2 separate regions of the Homo sapiens genome follow, and region 2 is linked to region 1. The links are contacts of gene promoters, found by promoter capture Hi-C in human tissues and cell types (Jung and others, 2019). All regions are on one chromosome and are shown on one strand. The core of a region is centred on a gene start or on the middle of the fragment in contact, and the rest is flanking DNA. Distances in the headings are between cores, read along the strand shown. Region 1 holds the start of RNF121 (ring finger protein 121). Region 2 overlaps NUMA1 (nuclear mitotic apparatus protein 1).

Region 1 (3,683 bases), core at 680-3,179:
TGTAATCCCAGCTACTCAGGAGGCTGAGGCAGGAGAATTGTTTGAACCCAGAAGGCAGAGGTTGTGGTGAGCTGAGATTGCAATACTGCACTCCAGCCTGGGCAATAAGAGCGAAACTCCATCTCAAATAAAAAAAGAAAATGTTATTTTCTCCTCTGCCAAAACTTCTGCTGTTTATCTCAATGAACCCTGACATATGTAACTACAGCTTTGAGATATACGTAATTGTCTCAAGGGAGAGCCCATGACTAACAAACCTTAAATAAGAACTTCAATACAGTATTTACCCTTTCCAAAGTGTCTTCAAATATATCTCACTGAACCACAGCCAACTGTAATCACAGAAATGTAAAAGCTAGAAGGGGTCTTGGAGGTCATTTCCACAACCACTCCACCTAACCAACCAACTGGTATCCAAACACCTGTAGTCTCTAGTGATTGGGAGGTAGAAGACTACAACACTTCTTTAAAAATCCCCCTGCTGTGATCACCTGTCAATTTCTCAGTCCCTTCCTCCCACCTTAATGATCCCAATCAGGTAATCCAACTCCTCCAACTCATCCCACTACCAGGCAACAGTCTTATTGCTTCCCAAGTCCACTTCTCCCTTTCTCTGAACCTCATCTTCAATCATCCCCAATCCTCCCCACTCTTCCCACACCCAACACACAGCAAGGGGCCTCTAAGATTCTGACCCCTCAGAGATCTCACTGGTTCTATCTCTGACAACCAATCCCCTTCCTCCTATTCCTGTGATGTCTTTGCCCATATGCTGGCATGTGCAAGATCACAAACACCACTAGCTATCAATGTCTCCATGGCTTCAGAATCTTTTCACCTCTGTCTCTGCTTCTCTGCCCTGTCCCTTCATTCCTTTCACACTCAACATCTCCTTCCTCCTAGTGATTCCTTCAAGGACCACTGGTATTTTAATACACCAGTCTTTAAATGCCTATTAGATAGGTAAAGGGAACATACAATCTCAAGGAGCTCACCTTCAAGGAACTCATAAATCCAGAAGAAGAGAGAGACACTTATTTATCGTTTAAAACTCAGCAACTCCGGGAAGCCTTCCCTATCCCAAGCTGAAATGTTGCACACTTCTCAGTGCCACCATTATATCTCTAATGCAATGACTAGTCTTCTTGTCTGTCTCCCACCACTAGACTGTGGGCTCTTCAACGGAGGGGCCCCTTGTCTCCCTAGCACCTGGCCCAGAACCCGGAGCAAAAGTCATAATGTTTATTAAGTGAATAAATGCATGAATTCCGGCATACAATCATTTATTCATCCACTTGTTCCTTCATTCGTTGGCCAAAACTTTACTGAGCATGCATTAGATACAAAGTCTTAGAATGGAACGATAAATAAAACAGTTCCAACTTTAAGATAACTCAAAGCTATACTACTAGTGGATTAGCACTCTTTCCCGGTCTGTGTCCCCAACCCCCACCCTAGGCTTAGACAGAGTCCTCTCCCACAGTAGAAGCCCAGCCTTCCCCTGAAGAAATTCACGTCCCTCCAACTCAAACTACCTCTTAGCCCTTCGGTCCTACCCTAAGACACCCAGCTAGTAATCACAAAATCTTAACACCCCCACCCCTCCGACCTCTCTCTCTGTCCTCCATCTTCACCCTTGAGGCTAATGCAAGTCTTCTACTCCCAAGGCCGCCTCGGAGTCCCCAAGTCAGGAGTGCCTCTGACTTCGCTCTCCACGCACCCGCCCCCTAGTCAGCTCCTTCCCTCTCAGGATCTTTCCCTTCTCTCCTAAGACCCCCACCTCCCGATACCTCACTGCCCCTCCCCTCAGTCTCAGGTTGAGTCTCTCCTCGTCTCTCAACTCCGCTTACCTCATCCAGCTCCCGTTCCCCAGCAGCACCACCTCCAACCTCCACCTCCACCACTGCCGCCATCTTCACGGCTCGCCCCCTCACCGCAGTCCCCGCGCGAGCCAGCTGCTTCCGCTGCTCAAGTGCTCCTAGCCAATCGGCGGCTCGGACTCCAGCAGAGGGGGCGGGGCATCAACACAGGCGGAGACTGTCAGGGATCAGGAGGTTATCTACTTGCTGCACGTTTCAGGGTCAAGGAGAGGGGAGTACCGTGCCCTTGCAAGCTTCAGCAAGGGAGCGTTCTTGGAAAATGAGAAATTTGAATCGCATTATTTTCAGTGCAACTATTTAACCAATTCTTCCCTTTGGAGAGCCAAATGGGAGCGTTCCAAAACGGGCAACTTTCGCGACGCTCCCTCAGTCTGGGCTCCAAGGAGCGAGACGTGGGGACTAGGAACTACGTTTCCCAAGCTGCACTGAGGCTGACCCGGAAGTTTAAATTCCGCTCCCTCCACGAAAGAGTTGTAGTGAGTGAAAATAAATATTAAAACACACGGAAATGTATTTTCCTGGCTGCAGCACCTGCCATCTTGCCTCGGTAGGACTCATTTTCAAAAACAGCAGCTTCTTGAAGCCCCAGAACGCATTCCTGTGCTACGGAAGACGGAAGAGTAGCTCTCGGGGTCAGAAGGCGAAGGTCAGAAGGCCGAATTGGCGGGAGAATAGGTTTGGTGGTCCGAGATCCGAGGCAACGGTGGCTCCTCGAGGTCCACGGTCCCGGGTGAGGGGCGTTGGGATTTGTTGATGGGGAGGGGAGTGGCCGAGAGGGAGGAGGGTGGCCATCAAGGAAATGAACTGAGCAGCCTGTTCCCGATGAGCTGTGAAAGCAGCGGTGCGGCTTGAGCTCCCGAAACTGAGAGCTGAAGAGCCTTGCGGGACCTCCAGGGCACCCACATTCCGCGTCTTACTTAGGCTGTCATGCCAGTTCACACACCTCGGCACACTTTTCTAACCCACATCCTGCGGCCCCAGCTTCTGCCTTACCCTCCTTTTTATACACCATTCACTGTCCCACCCCTACGTATACCTTCATAACTGATTTTTCAGCAGCCGGTGAACTCGATACCTTGCAAGCCTGTAGCCCCAGCTCACACGCCTCTGGGCGTCCGCCTGGATCTGTCTGGTGAATGGAACTAGGATGGCCTGTGAGCCCACAGAACGTCTAGAAAAGTCAGCTTTACATTGGGACCAACAGAAAATTACAGGGAATTATCTACATCATCCACAGGCATCCCATTTACTTAAAAATAATCATTTTTATTTTGTGACACTTAATACGGAGAATATTGTAAATACTGTACACCCATCACCCTAAATTGACTACTGGCATTATGATTTATTTGCTTATTTTTTAAAAGCTAGATAATACAATAAAAGTTAAACTTACCTGTTTTTTCTACTCTCAAGCCTATTACCCTCTCATCCTCTCCAGAAGCAACTATTATGAATTAGAATTAGCTTGTGTTCTCCCAGTCCATTTTTAATAATTATATGTAGCCATGACTATATAGTATTGTATTGTGTTTCATTTTGTTTTTTAATCTGAGTGCTTTTTTTTTTTCTTTGAAACGGTGTCTCGCTGTGTTACCAAGGCTGGAATGCACTGGTTCAATCTGGGCTCACTGCAGCCTCCGCCTACTGGGTTCAAACGATTCTCATGTCTCAGCCTCCCAAATAGCTGGGACTACGTACGCGCCACCACGCCTGGGGAAATTTCATATTTTTAGCAGAGATGGGGTCATGGCCATGGTCTCGAACTCCTGACCTTAAGTGATCCACCCGCCTCGGCCTCCC
Region 2 (3,672 bases), core at 937-3,436, 140 kb before region 1:
TATTAATAACTATTTAAAAGGTTATCGTGATGCTCACAGTGAGACACTACATAAATATTTGAATTAAAATATTTGAATGCCTTTAGGGGGGTGCAGCGTTTCCTAGATCTGCCATGTGCCCCACTGGATCATTCATTTTGTTTTGTTTGGATACGTGGTTTCGCTCTGTTGCCCAGGCTGGAGTCCAGTGGCACGGTCTCAGCTCACTGCAGCCTCCCAAGTGGGTGGGACCCAGGCACACTCCACCACACCTAGCTAATTTTTTGTATTTTTGTAGAGACGGAGTTTTACTATGTTGCCCAGGTTGGTCTGGAACTCCTGAGCTCAAGCGATCTGCCCACCTTGGCTTCCCAAAGTGCTGGGATTACCGCTGTGAGCCACTGGGCCTTGCCTGGATAATTTGTTTCTGTTACCTGCCTGACCCCTGAAGATGTTTGAATTTACCACTCCTGGATAATTGAAAGCAGGGAAATGAGAAAAGGCTTGGCTCACGCAGAGAGAAGTGGGAAGACTGGCTTGATCAATTCAGAGTATATTCTGTAGAATAGTGGGAAATAAGGTTGAATAAATGACTTGAGGCCATATAATGGAGGATTTGGAAAGTTAAGCCAAAGAATTTAGATATGATGCTTTAGGGAGAAGAAAACTGGAAGATTTTTGAGCAGGAGGAGAGACACTTGAAAATGAGAGTGGTGTGGGGCCTCCTGAGGAAGAAGTTTTCTGGCTTAAAGACTGAAATCCTAACAGGGCAGGGCCTTCACAGTGCTGACCAAGTGTGGGTGTGGCTTGGCAGTCTTGCCACAGAAGGCCAGAATTTCTGCCCCAGTGACTCTTCCTGCTCTGCCACTGACTCACCCCGTTGACCTGGCCTGCATGGCTTCCCTTCTGCTTGCTGTCTGATCCACAGAACGCTGGGGTTGCCCAGGATAATGTGAGGCTGAGCTCACTAAGAGTGGGTGGGTTAGGGGAATGAATAATCATTCCTGTCCCTTTGCCCCTTCCCTAGGTGGAAACTAATTCTAAGCCAGACTGCTGGAGATCACCCTGTTCTAGTGTGTGGAGGCTTCCACCAGGAGGTAAGTCAAAATGGTTTCTGCCCTCTAGTTTTTCATAGGTCAGCTTTGTCCTGAGCAGGATCTCTACCATTTACTTTTTCCCTGACCCAGATTCTTCAAAGTGATTGTCTTTGTCTTTCAATTATTTGAGGCAAACAGGTTACTGTAGGAGGAGAGCAGAGAGGTTTAATAAAGATATTTTTCTAACTGTGGGAGGGTGGTGTCCAGAGGTTTTCATTGGCCCTTGCTCTGAGGTAGATTGCCCAGAACTCTTGTGAGCCAGACACTAAACATTGGCCATTGAGGCCACTGCAGAGAAGTCCTGGTTTTTAAGCCATCATTTCTCTGCTACTGGGTTTCAGAACCATTCTTGGTGTGCTTTAGTGTCCCAAGTTATTTCTGTCCCTTTTGATCAGGGGAGTGAAGGAAGTGAGAAGCAGGGGAGGAGGAGCTGTATACATAAGTATGTGTGGGTGCATTATGCTGGGAGTTTGGGTGTCTGGGTTTCTCATCCTGACTGTTGCTAACCAGATGTGTGACCAGGGACAAATTGCCTAACCTCAATGGACTGAACTTTTCTCATATGTAAAAAGGGACAGTTAGGATTATATGATCTTGAAGATTTCTTCCAGGGCCAAAATTTATCATTATATAATGTGTAATTATAAAGTGATATAATAGTTGAACAAATGTGACAGATATTGTACATGTCTTGCCCCCTTGATTGTAATTATGGGGCAATTAGAATGTTTTTAAGTTTGACCCCTTCAAAGTAATTGTGTTCTCAGCCTTTAGATTTCCTTTGGTGATGGTGTCATTGCCTCAGACTGCCTCTGAGCCAATCTTTTGAATATCCTCAGAGGTAGCAAATCTTTACTCTTAGCTTGGTGGATTCAATTTTTAGAAACAGCCAGAAGATGCCGTGAGCCAAAGATTCATGCAAGGCAATACCTTTTTTGGTGAAGGATGAGGTGTGACTATAAAACAGTAACACCGAATTTTTCTGTTTGTCTCACATGGAGTAGACTTTAAAGGCAGCTCCCAAAGAAGTGTTTTGTTAGAATAAGTAAATAACTTCCTAAGGAGAGTATTTTGATTGCAGTTTTCATTTGATTTAATAAGATTAGAAATGTCTGCTGGAAAACAAGTCACTTTCCTTTATAGTGACTGTGCATATGCTTGCTTATAGGTTGGGGTGACTAGATAATGGAGAAAACTGGCCTTTCTTTTCTTTTTTTTTTCCAGACAGGGTCTCTCTCTGTCACCCAGACTGGAGTGCAATGGCGGGATCTCAGCTCACTGCAACCTCCACCTCTCGGGTTCAAGCGATTCTCCTGCCTCAGCCTCCCTAGTAGCTATGATTACAGGCATGTGCCACCATGCCCAGCTAATTTTTTGTATTTTTAGTAGAGACAGGGTTTCACCATGTTGGTCAGGCTGGTCTTGAACTCCTGACCTCAAGCGATCCACCCGCCTTGGCCGCCCAAAGTGCTAGGATTACAGGCGTGAGCCACCGCGCCCTGCCAAAAACTGGTCTTTCTCCTGGTACTCCTCCCAAATCACAAGTGTGTTGAGGGCTGAAACACAAGTGTGTTGAGGGAACAAGTGTGTTTCAACATGTTGCTCTATAGGAAACTGCAGCTGAGGAGCCATTGCAGTCCCATCTCCAGAAGACCCCCAGAAAGAGTTGGAAGAGTTCTTCAGGCTGTGGCAGCCACTGCCCACCAACACACCCAAATCAATCAAGATGAATCCCAGGTGGTGAGGCTGAAGCAGATGGTTTGGTAGCTCCAGTCTTTTTTTAGGCAGAAATGATGTATTAAATCACTACATTGATTTTTTTGTTGTTGTTAGCAGTTGTGGGTTTGAAAAAAGGTAGGCAGGAAGATGGTGAAGGGGTCAAGCCTAGGGGCTGTTATCTTGAATATATGCAAATTAAGCTGATTATATTGTAGTGCCCTGTAACCTGTTCCTGGAAACAGTGGTCTTGAAAACTCATCAGTTAAATGAGGTGTTAGACAGCCTGGTCAAAAGATTCTGTGACTAAGTTACTGTATAATCATTTGCAATTCTCTTTCTTACTCTAAACATTGTTTTCCTCATTTTTATATTGAAAGAGTTAAGAGATGCTAAAAATTCTAGATCTGAAAATTGGATAAGCCTAAGAAGGTTTGAGGTAGGGAAATGTCTATTCTAAGCTGTTTGACTACTGGACTTGGGGTAGGAGTGGAATTTCTTTTTTACTTCCTAAATTATAGTTACTTTACTCTCTACTTATAGTCACAGCTGGGTGATCAGACATTAAGTAGCTATTTAATGAGAAGCAGGCACTGGAAGCTTGCTCCAGAAAAACAATCACAGGACATGTTGGTCCTGAGAGAAGTCATTCCTTGGTAGGACCTATTGTTTGAAGGAGGTGGGGGTGAATTTCATCAAAATGGACAGTGTGGATATTGTGATTCAGAGGATTGAGAGACTTTGTTTCCTGCTGTTATTAATTTCAAGCCTTTTTTAAAGGGATTCTCCTAGTGATTGGTACAGTGGGATTCATTTAGAGAAAAAGCCTTGTGTACCAGTTGGAAGTTAATGCCCAAGAGCAGGGCCAGTTGCTGGAGGA

What was found. Contacts are between HindIII fragments. The study calls those that stand out against the background at their distance.
Region 2: a contact is called between a fragment that was not itself captured here and the fragment with the promoter of RNF121 in region 1, in 1 of the 25 tissues and cell types used here (spleen).

Annotation. Positions count from the first base shown.
Region 1 is chr11:71,927,292-71,930,974 of GRCh38, reverse strand. It overlaps RNF121 (ring finger protein 121), which reads right to left and starts at 1,929. Exons shown (of 9, transcript NM_018320.5): 1 at 1,851-1,929. The coding sequence starts at 1,913. XNDC1N (XRCC1 N-terminal domain containing 1, N-terminal like) reads left to right here and starts at 2,381. Exons shown (of 6, transcript NM_001375847.2): 1 at 2,381-2,610. XNDC1N-ZNF705EP-ALG1L9P (XNDC1N-ZNF705EP-ALG1L9P readthrough) reads left to right here and starts at 2,381. Exons shown (of 11, transcript NR_172895.1): 1 at 2,381-2,610. RefSeq lists an enhancer at 2,239-2,548. The HindIII fragment of the contact is 22,719 bases long and covers 1-3,683 here.
Region 2 is chr11:72,067,246-72,070,917 of GRCh38, reverse strand. NUMA1 (nuclear mitotic apparatus protein 1) reads left to right here. Exons shown (of 27, transcript NM_006185.4): 2 at 1,007-1,076. Among named protein-coding and RNA genes, the nearest start is that of MIR3165, 3.2 kb to the left of the region's middle. The HindIII fragment of the contact is 8,682 bases long and covers 1-3,672 here.